Regions from separate parts of the Homo sapiens genome. Here all the other regions are linked to region 1. Evidence: promoter capture Hi-C in 16 types of primary human blood cells and fetal thymus (Javierre and others, 2016). All regions are on one chromosome and are shown on one strand. The core of a region is centred on a gene start or on the middle of the fragment in contact, and the rest is flanking DNA. Distances in the headings are between cores, read along the strand shown. Region 1 holds the start of ZIK1 (zinc finger protein interacting with K protein 1). Region 2 overlaps ZNF274 (zinc finger protein 274). Region 3 holds the start of ZNF324 (zinc finger protein 324).

The links. The method cuts DNA at HindIII sites, captures the fragments that hold promoters and counts their contacts. A CHiCAGO score of 5 or more calls a contact.
Region 2: a fragment that was not itself captured here is called in contact with the fragment with the promoter of ZIK1 in region 1 in 1 of 17 cell types (non-activated CD4 T cells); the score reaches 5.3 in non-activated CD4 T cells.
Region 3: the fragment with the promoter of ZNF324 here is called in contact with the fragment with the promoter of ZIK1 in region 1 in 4 of 17 cell types (total CD4 T cells, total CD8 T cells, total B cells and 1 more); the score reaches 8.0 in total CD4 T cells.

The regions. Positions count from the first base shown.
Region 1 is chr19:57,582,251-57,585,560 of GRCh38, forward strand. ZIK1 (zinc finger protein interacting with K protein 1) reads left to right here and starts at 1,895. Exons shown (of 4, transcript NM_001010879.4): 1 at 1,895-2,139; 2 at 2,702-2,740. The coding sequence starts at 2,107. RefSeq lists enhancers at 1,404-1,935, 1,632-1,731. The HindIII fragment of the contact is 4,281 bases long and covers 1-2,853 here.
Region 2 is chr19:58,200,014-58,203,658 of GRCh38, forward strand. All of the region lies in intron 4 of ZNF274 (zinc finger protein 274), which reads left to right. Among named protein-coding and RNA genes, the nearest start is that of ZNF274, 19 kb to the left of the region's middle. The HindIII fragment of the contact is 4,047 bases long and covers 1-3,645 here.
Region 3 is chr19:58,465,787-58,469,369 of GRCh38, forward strand. ZNF324 (zinc finger protein 324) reads left to right here and starts at 1,294. Exons shown (of 4, transcript NM_014347.3): 1 at 1,294-1,397; 2 at 3,394-3,520. The coding sequence starts at 3,400. RefSeq lists enhancers at 1,025-1,641, 1,642-2,256, 2,675-2,794 and silencers at 1,284-1,333, 1,414-1,543. The HindIII fragment of the contact is 6,014 bases long and covers 1-3,152 here.

The DNA of each region.
Region 1 (3,310 bases), core at 645-3,144:
GTTGCTGTCCGACGCACACAGAAGCCAATGCCATGGCACCAGGTTTTTGAGAAAAGCAAACCTTTATTGCAAGTCGACAAACAAGAAGACAGGAGTCCAGCTCAAATCTGTCTCCCCAATATGGGGTTTGGGGCAGCTTTTAAGGATTAGGAAGGACAGGTTGGTAAGCACTGGAAGGGTGGATTTTGATTGGAAGGACTTCAAACAAATCTATTGATGGCAAGGCGGGGATGGGGTTGTTATCACCCAACATTCAGAGACAACAGACCCCTTGCTTTCGGAAGTGTTTCAGCACTTGGGTTCCAGCCATAGCCTGATATTTTGGTTTCCTGTGGTGACAGGGTGGAGTCTGGTAGGTGAGACTTCAGCTCCGAGTGTTGGGTCAATGTTTTCTTTTCTCTTTTCTTTTTATTTATTTATTTATTTACTTATTTATTTATTGAGACAGGGTCTGGCTCCGTTGCCCAGGCTGGAGTGCAGTGGCATAATCATAACTCACTGTAACCGTGATCTCCTGGGCTCAAGCGATACTCCCACCTCAGCATCCTGAGTAGCTAGGATTACAGGTGCACCACCATACTCGGGTAATTTTTTAGTTTTTGTAGAGACGGGGTCTGGCTATGTTGCCCAAGTGGTCCTTCCACCTCAGCCTCCCAATGTGCTTGGATTACAGGTGTGAGCCACCGCGCTGGGCCTGACATTTTCTTTTCTGCACATTCTCTAGCTGTGTAACTTGCAACTCTTTAGCTCTGTGCCTGCAAAATAACTGGACATTATGTTACCAACAGAGGATGGCCAGATGAGACTGGTCCAGTGGTTAAACCTGCACCTTCATGGAGGCCATTATGAGTATCCCTACAGGCCGAGTCTCAGGGTGCCCCCAGAAGCCCATACCAGCCGCTGTAAGGCAGAGCATGGACTTCCCCTCGGGGACTAAATCCCATTCTTGGGCTCCAGAGGCCTTGTTCCTACCACTGTACGCCACCGCTTGGGGTGCCCTGGGAACCCGCCTACCTCCCTACTGCCCTGAGGGCGGTTGGAGATGGTCCCAGCAGGTGTGGGAGATGAGGTAGGAGACGTCTTCAACGGGGTCCAAGGCTCATCTGGACCCAGTTCTCAGCCGAGGGGCGGTGGAGAGGGCGTCAGAAAACGCAGGAACGGCTCCTAGACCCAGGAGGGGACTCAGGGAAGCAGAGGCGCTTTCCTCGGCGGCTCTGGGGCCTTCCCAGCTCGCCCGGCCCCCCTGGAGGAGACGTCCCCCGGGGTGGAGCTACGGAGAACCCCTTCCCATGGGACGTCTCGGCCCCGCCTCCCGCCTCTGGGTACAGTCAAAGGGCTCAGGTCAGAGCAGGAGCAGCCGGGGGCGCGGCCCCCACGTGGCCTCCCGGGACACGTGCCCACAGCGCGACACCTAAGTCGCTCCTTTCACAGAATAGCCTTGGCCCCGGCACGGCCTCGAACGCCTTGACCCCGCAAGGGAGGGGCACGAGGCTCCTTTGCTCCCGCAGGAGCGTCGAATACGTATGGAATACGCGTCGGTGTGGATCTGGCCTCAGCTTCCTGAGCCTGAATCAATGCTTCTAATCACGTGGGCGCTCAGCCGCGACGGGACCACAGAAATCGACCAGCGGCCTGTTTAAGGAGCGACAAGGCCCAGCCCTCTCCTGCATTGTGGCGACGCCATTTCCCTGCGCCCCCAGCGCGGCCGCTTGGCTTTTGTTTGAGGTGACGCTGGGCGGCAGCATCCTTCCCTCAGCCCTGGGGACCAGCGGGGACTACAGAACCCAGAAGGTTTTGTCTCCAGCCGCAGGGATGCTGAGCCAATCCGCGCTGAGAAAAGGGTCGTTTCCGCTTTGGGACCAATGGGTCGGGGAGGGACTTCCGGTATCACTTCAGTGGCGGTCATTTTTGCAGCGCTTGGGTGCATCCAGACCGTCAGAGCTTTGGGAGCGCTTTGTTTGGCGACAGTCGGAAGGCGCGAGGGGAGGGGTCCTCCCGCTGAACAGTGGGGGTTCTAAGGGTCGGCGGCGGCGGGGTTGACGGCTTTGCCTAGGTCCCTCCGCCCGTAGCTGTCGGGTCCCGGCCCCGCTCTGCCCACAGACTCCGATGGCTGCGGCCGCGCTGAGGGCCCCGACTCAGGTGAGCGCTGCCTCTACTGGGCCTCACCCTCCATCCCCAAATTAGTGCCTTCTTGGGTCACTACGGTCGAGATCCTCATGTCCAGTACAGTGGGGGCTCGTGGGTGGGGTCCCTATTTCCAGAACTTGGGTGATGGGGCACGGAAGAGGGTTACAGGCAAAGGGACCAGCGTTTCTAAACTCTTGGAGACACAGTGAAGAAGGTTCATACCTGGAGTGCCAAGGTGAGGAGTTTTCCCTCAATTCTTAGGATGCTAGGAGCCGTGGAGGGTTGTGTACAGAAGCGGCATATGGTCTGAGTTAGGTCTTTCGAAGTTTTCCAAAAACCTCATGGAGTTAGACTAGAATAGAATGGAATAACACAGAGGCACAGGGAGGTTGAGTTCTTGTGCAAGGTCCCACAGTTGCTAAGAGTTGGCACTGAGGACTGGAACGCTGAGGCTCAGAAATAATGCAGGCATCCTCAGTCCACCTGGCTCTGGCCTGGACAGGAATCCAGGGAAGCCTGAATCCGTAGAGCCCTGTATGGTCACCTGCCTTTCATGATCTTTGGCTTTCCACAGGTTACTGTGTCTCCAGAAACACATATGGACCTCACAAAGGTGAGTGGAGGGTGTCCCAGGCCCTCACTGGTCCTGGCCCCATCCTGGGGTTTTTTCATGGATCTTTTTGCCACCATCCAGTTCTTTGACCTAAGGACTCTTCACAAACTGGAAGCTTGACATCCTGATTCTAGACTGGTGGTTATTTGTAGACGTTCTTATTGCTGGCAGACAATGGAATGAGGTGTGAAAGGTTGCCCCGCCTACGTACAATAATGTGTAAGGTTGGCAGTGAAGCTGAGCTGATTCAGGGAAACACAACTCTCCTTTCTTTCTCATGGGAACTCAGAGCAGCAGGGCAGGACTCAGGCCTGGAATGGCTCTGAGAAATTGGGTGTTTTTTCTGGAGGTGATGAGAACAATGGGAGGTTTAGAGAAGAGAACGGAGGTTATCTGACACTGGTCTCATCAGGTTCACTGTTAATGCAGCATAGAGAATACTCTGTGGGTGTGATGGAGGCGATAGAAAGACCAGGGAGGAGGCTACTGCAGTGGCCAAGGTGAGTTTTGATAGTGGCTTCACCAGTGTGGTGGCTGTGAAGGTAGAAGAAGTGGCTGGATTCTGGGTCA
Region 2 (3,645 bases), core at 487-2,986, 620 kb after region 1:
TACAAGTCCCTGACATGGGCTTGGCTGAGAAGAAGCAAGTGGGGTGCAAACTATGTGTGCTTTCATGTTGCAAAGAAGCTGTGTTGAATCAACAAATATTACTTGAGCACTTGCCAGGATTCCAGGTACTGTTCCAGGGCTGGATCACAGTGATGAGTGGGGCAGGTCTTACACCTGCTTTCATTGGGCCTACATCCATTCCATGGCTGATTGGATCAACAAAAATGAAGTTGCCCATTCAGTACCTCAATTGCACTGGGCACCTTTCAACTGCTCATTGGCCCTGCAGCTAATGCTACTATGTTGGACAGTACAGATCTAGAACATCTCATTTATAGAAAGTTCCATTGGACAGCACTGCTCTAGATAGGGTGATAGACATGATAAATTAATGAATCAGATATTTGGGATGGTAATGAGTGTTGGAAAGAGAAGGAAACAATGGGATACATTGGTGGGGGACAAGCGAGGTACGGGTGGGCAGCAGTAGTTCAGAACTAAGTAGGAAGATGGTTCTGAGGAGGTGACGTTTGAGCTCAGACCTGAATGGGAAAGGCGAACCAGGTGAAGATGTTGGGGAAGGTGAACCAGGCGAAGATGTTGGGGAAGACTATACCAGGCAGGAGGGTGGTGCACATGTGGATCTCTGGATGAAAGGCCATATTCTAGGAAAACTAAGATGGTGGCTGTGGGAGACCCCTTTAGCGTCAAGGACATGAAATAACAGGGTTTGGAACCCGGCTCCTTTGTTGCCCACTATGTTAGGCCGTTCTTAAATTGCTGTAAATACCTGAGACTGGGTTATTTATGAAGATAAGAGATTTAATTGGCTCACAGTTCTGCAGGCTGTACAAGGGTGGCACTGGCATCTGGTTGGCTTCTGGGGAGGCCTCAGGGAGCTTTTTACTCATGGTGGAAGGCAGGGAGCAGGCACATCATGGGAAAAGCAGCAGCCAGAGAGAGGAAGAAGGTGCCGCATACTGTTGTTTGTTTGTTTTGTTTTTTTTTTTGGAGACACGGTCTCACTCTCACCTAGGCGGTAGTACAGTGGTGCGATCATGACCCACTGCAGCCTCGACTTCCTGAGTTCAAGCGATTCTCCCACCTCAGCTTCCTGAGTAGCCAGGACTACAGGCACATGCCGCTACGCCTGGCTAATTTTTTTTTTTTTTTTTTTTTGTGGAGATGGGGTTTTGCCATGTTGCCCAGGCCGGTCTAGAACTCCTGGGCTCAAGCGAACCACCTACCTCAGCCTCCCAAGGTGCTGGGATTACAGGCGTGAGCCATTCTGCCCGGCCACACTTTTTTAAACAACCAGATCTCGTGTGATTAACTTAACCACCAGGAGGATGGTGCTAAGCCATTCTTGAAGGTTCACCAGGCCCCACCTCCAACACAGCATCACTTTTCAACCTGAGATTTGGTAGGGACACAGAACCAAACCGGATCATCCACTCTGCAACCCTGGGCAGGGTTCCTAGCCTATCCCAGCATGAATTTCTTTTTTTTTTTTTTCTTTCTGAGATGGAGTCTTGCACTGTCGCCCAGGCTGGAGTGCAGTGGTGTGATCTTAGCTCACTGTAACCTCCACCTCCTGGGTTCAAGTGATTCTCCTGCCTCAGCCTCCCAGGTAGCTGGGACTACAGGTGCCCGCCACCTCGCCTAGCTAACTTTTGTGTTTTTAGTAGAGACGGGGTTTCACCATATTGGCCAGGCTGGTCTCAAACTCCTGACCTTGTGATCTGCCCACCTCGGCCTCCCAAAGTGCTGGGATTACAGGCATGAGTCACCGCACCAGGCATATTTCTTTTGTGTATGGTGTACATTTGCTTCCTGGGACTGTGGGCAGCCTTCGTGAAATGATGGTACTGTCATTGATTCAAAAACTGAGTAACGTAAAGATGATCAGCAGCCTTTGGCAGATCCTCTACTTAGGGGTGTGAGATCCACAAGTCCCAGTTGGCAGCCTCAGTGGTACACTGGAGGAGACAGATGCAGAAGGTAATCCAACAGGGAGCTTAGGGGCACTGAGGGAATGATGAGAGAGAACAGGAGAGCTGAGAGCTTTCCAGACAAGGAGGAAAAGTGATGGGGTACTGTGCCCAGGGATTAGGGGAGCTGAGGGTAAGTACTCTTCTGACTTTTCCCCCACAAGCTGCTAAAAAGATCATTGCTTTTCGTTATATTTTGGACTGGTATACCTGGCTAATCAGCATTCACTGGCAAACAGCACTGTGAGGAAGACAGCTGCCTAAGGCCTGTTTGTCACCCTGGAAGGGAAGCAGCAGAGAGGTAGAAGTATCCTGAGAGAAGAAAATAGTGTCAAGAGGGAGAAAGCAGCAGCTCCCATCAAGCCCTTACCACATGCTGTGCCTGGACTTTGGTATCTCATCACTTTGGGTGAAGAAACTCAGGCTCAAGAAGTTAATCTCTCTTGATTAAACCCCTTGCTTTGAGCCTCAGTGAATTTGTTTCACAACCCATTAGACAGACAGTTGTAGGTGAGGTGACTACATTGCTACGGGCTCATTCAGTTGCTGGACTGAAAGCCATTTGGAGCTCCAGCTGATAGGGATTATGCAGCTCCACATGAGTGGGTTGGGTCAGTCATGTCTGTGGAATGAGATGGGTGGAATGAGAATCCAGTTCCACCTCTGCCTGGTGGTGAACTTAAGAGCTTCCATTTTCTCCTCCATGAAGTGGAGCAGCTAATTTCCTGCAATAGACAGTGGTAAGGATTGCCCTAAAGGTCTTGGGATAGTCTATGGGTTGACATTTGGAGGACTGAGGTGCACAGAATGAGTCCATCACTTCCTCACCAGTTTCTGGGTTTGTGGTCTCTCTGTTCACTGTGGTGTCCTTGGTTCCACAGCATGCAAAAGGTGCTTTATGATAACTGTGTACAGAACAGAGTGTGGGGCCTCATGGGTTAATAATAAAGATTAAAGCAGAAGTAAGTACATTAGAAAGGGGTGGGGTGGAGTAGAAGAATCCAACAGTTGTTTTCCTAGGGGCCAAGGCATGAAAATCCCTCGATTAAGGAATACAAAAATGAAATTTTAGAAATTTATGAAGTAACGTTTAAGATGTTTAAGTGTCATGCATGGTTACCTAAAATAGTACTGGTGGCCCAGTGCTGGTCTGCCACTTAGCCCCCCCCCAGGAAGTACAGATTCAGTTGGTGCATGTCCCATGTCCTAGGCACTTAGTCCGGTGCTGCTGGGCCTCCAGTAAATCTTATCCCCAGCTGCTTCTCAGGAAAAATTCAAGCCTTAAGAGCTGTAATTGGGCTGGGCACGGTGGCTCACACCTGTAATCCCAGCACTTTGGGAGGCCGAGATGGACGGATCACCTGAGGTGAGGAGTTCGAGACCAGCCTGGCCAAGATGGCGAAACCCTGTCTCTACTAAAAATACAAAAATTAGCTGGGCCTGGCGGTGGGCGCCTGTAATCCCAGCTGCGGCTGAGGCAGGAGAATTGCTTGAACCCGGGAGGCGGAGGTTGCAGTGAGCCGAGATCCCTCCACTGCACTCTAGCGTGGGCGACTAAGAGCGAAACTCCGTCTCAAAAAAAAAAAAAAAAAGAAAAAAACGCTGTAATTGAAAGAAAATAAATGAAGTATGCTTTCAAATTAAGAAAAGTTAC
Region 3 (3,583 bases), core at 44-2,543, 880 kb after region 1:
ATATTAAAACATTCCAAACATGATGAGCTCCCTTGCTCTACAAGGATTTACAAGTAGAATCAATTAGGTGGACAGTTATAGCTGACAGTTGACAGAGAGATAGTTATAGATGGAGGTAGGTATAGAGGGAGGGAGGCAAAAAGAGTTAAGGAACTGGACAGCTGAGAACTGTCTACAGGTTCCAAAAACAAGACAAAGAACCTTTTATTATCTGCCAAACAAGACAGTCTACATTGAGACTGCTCTGCCTTTCGTTTTTATGTGTCAAAGACACTTAAATTGGCCTGTAATCCCAGCACTTTGGGAGAACGAGGTGGGCGGATCACCTGAGGTCAGGAGTTCAAGACCAGCCTGGCCAACATGGTGAAACTCCATCTCTACTAAAAAATACAAAAATTAGCCAGGCATGGTGGCGCACACCTGTGGTCCCAGCTACTACGGAGGCTGAGGCGGGGGGATCACTTGAACCTGAAGGCAGAGGTTGCAGTGAGCCGAGATTGTGCCACTGCACTCCAGCACGGGCAACAGAACAAAGACCCTGTTAAAAAAAAAAAAAAAAAACTTAAATGAGTCCCAAGAAAAAAGGAAAAAAGAATGAATATTGTGATGTGTGGGGCAAGACAAGATCTAGATGGTCTAAGGACAAGCAAATCTGGGGAATTAACTTCTGCCCATCCAAATTACAAGGAAAACAGATGCTTTGGGCAAGTGTCGAGGAACAGTCTCATACTTAAGACAAATGTAGGCTTACGGGCTGAGAATTCTTGGTGTAAAGGTTGAAAACGGACCTTAAACCTTTACGGGACATTGACACAGAGAGGTCAAACCCGCGCCCAGGACGCACAGTCAGTGAGAGGCAGAGCTGGGAAGGGAACCCGGAGCTCCAGGCATCGGCTCCTCCACCTCCACCTGCGCTACCCGGTGCATTTTCTCCTCCGTGCTCACTGCTGGTGTTGCCTCTTGGAACCTCGGCAGTTTCTGCTTTCGCACCTGCAGGGTTTAGTCTCCGGGACTGCTTGGGAGGACACCTGGAATGCCGAAGGCAGGACTACACACCGGGCGAATCCACCAGCGCCACCAAGCCCTTGAAAACCCGAGGCCGCCGCGCGACTCCATTTCCCAGCGCCCCGCGCGGCAGGGGCTTGGACGTTGCCAAGGAGACCGGTAGTGGCCCCGCCTCCACGCAGGGAAACAGGCGGGAACCACGTGACCCGGAAGGCTGTACGCAAGCGTCCGCGGCGCGCACTGGGCCAATGAGAACCGAAGGGCTGGACTTCCGGCGGTGGGACTGTCACTTCGCCGCCCGCGTCAGGCCACACCGGTGGTCTGGGCTGGGGACCGCGGGTCGGGTCCGGTTTCCAGGGGGTTCCTGGTGCTCGAGGCTGGCGGCGAGGAAGGTACTGGCTGAGGGCCCGCGTCGGGCCCGCCCTGCGCACGCGTCGTGATCAAGGGCGCCGGCCGCCGGCCGCGCCCCCAAGCCTCTGTTTCTCAGAGTGCGTCGTGGGCGTCCAGGGGACTGTCGGGCCGCGGCGGGAGCCATGCGCTCTCCCACCGTGCGGCAGCCCAGGAGGCTGCGCGCTGGGCGTTCCACGTCCATGATGGCCGGGGAGACTGAGGCGCGGGGCGGCCCCGGGACGCTGCTGGCGGGGAAAGGCTGGGTGGTCCACGCCTTTCTTCCCTCCCAGCTGCGGGTTCCGCTGGCGGCGGTGGCGCTGACAAGCCCGCGTCGGGGAAGCAGGGGAGTCCCTGCTCACACAGACCGCGCCCTCACGGAGGGAGGCCGCTTCCTAGACCTCGCCTAGTCGTCTTTCCTCTCCCTGCCCTGGGGGGGTTGCGGGGGTCAGTGCAAACTCCTGCGTCCAGGGCACTGGTGAGCTCCCGAGTTCGGGCAGCCAGGGGGCTGAGGTCCCGAAGGAGGCTCCGAGGGGAGAGTCCTGCGTGTGCAAAACCTGGGAGGGGAGCCGAAGCCCAGGTGCTTCTGGGACTGAGCTCTCTCGATGTGGAGCTGGAGTAGAGGGGATGTGTGCGGCTGCAGTATCAGGCGAGGGAGTGGGCTTTATCTCGAGGGCGTCGGGAGACATAGAAGTTTTGAACAGAATCAGGACATCCTCTGAGGACTTTAAAACGGTTCCACCGTTTGTTGCGTGGAGAACAGACATGCAGGGGTGTCGGCATGAAGGGAAGAACCGACTGCCACAGTCTGGGCAGCAGTGGAGGTGGGCGACCAGGTGAATTCTGGTGGATCTGCGGATGCATCAGGTGTGGGCTGTTTGAAGAACTAAGTACCCCATGTTGTTCAGCCTGAGCGCCTGGAAGAAGAGAGCTGCTGTAGATAGAAAGGAGAATTGAAAGGAAAGCAGGTTTCCTTCAGGGGAAAGATCAAGAGTCTGGGATGTCCCAGGTTGGTCATGTCACTGGACCTGACGTTGTTGGCGTCCTGGGCTGTGGACAGGGCCTATGAATTGGACTGAGGAATGGGCAGGGACTCAGCCAGGTGTGGGCAGTTATGGCTTGAGGGTAAAGAAGACCAGCTGGGATGCCTGGGGCTATTGGGAAGAGCCTAGCACCTAACTGAGGAGGGGAGGGTGGCAACAGAGAGGGGAAGAAAGGGGACACCGGGTGAAAGGAGGAAGGGATTGAGTTCCTCTGTGTTCACAGGTTGTTGAGGCTGCTCCCCTGTGGCGACTGGTGAGAATCATCCAGTCCCTCAGGCTGGATGAGCAGCCTGGAAATGTCAGGCAAGCAGGCTCAGCAGGGGAGGGTCCCAGTGATGGGTATGCCTGGGAAGCCCCTGCTGGGACTCACAGTTTCTTGCTACAAGAGCAGGAAGGGTGCATCTGGGGAGGGTCATGAGTGGTCATGCTGAGTCACGAGTGGACACCTGGGGCTGCTCTTGGTGTGGCAGCTGAGGGCCCAGCCAGGACTTGTTCTAGCTTGCTTGTGTATGGCGTTGCCAGTGGGGAGGCCAAGAAGGCATCTGGGGTCTGGTCAGGGAGGGCAGAGGGGAGGGGTCCCAGACATGTGAGGGAAGTGCCATCTGAAGATGGTGGGGGCAGAACCCAGGGAAGGAGGGTGAGTGTCTGAGGGACATCATGGAAGGTGGCTGTTGGGATGGGGAGCTTGGTCCTGGCTCACAGCCATACCTTAAACTAAGCTTGTCCAACCCACTGCCCAGGATGGCTTTGAATGCAGCCCAAAACAAGTTCGTGAACTTTCTTAAAACATGAGATGTTTATGCAATTTTTATTTTTTTTAGCTCATCAGCTGTTATTAGTGTTAATGTATTTTATGTGTTGCCCAAGACAATTCTTCTTCCAATGTGGCCCAGGGAAGCCAAAAGATTGGATAACCCAGCCTTAGACCATGGCTGTCTCTTCCTCCCTGCTCTTTTAGGACCAGATGGCCTTTGAGGATGTGGCTGTGTACTTCTCCCAGGAGGAGTGGGGGCTCCTGGACACAGCCCAGAGGGCCCTGTACCGCCGCGTGATGCTAGACAACTTCGCACTTGTGGCCTCGCTGGGTAAGGTCCTAGATACTCCATGAAATGGGCAACTGATAACAAGCTGACTGGCCAGGGCTGCCC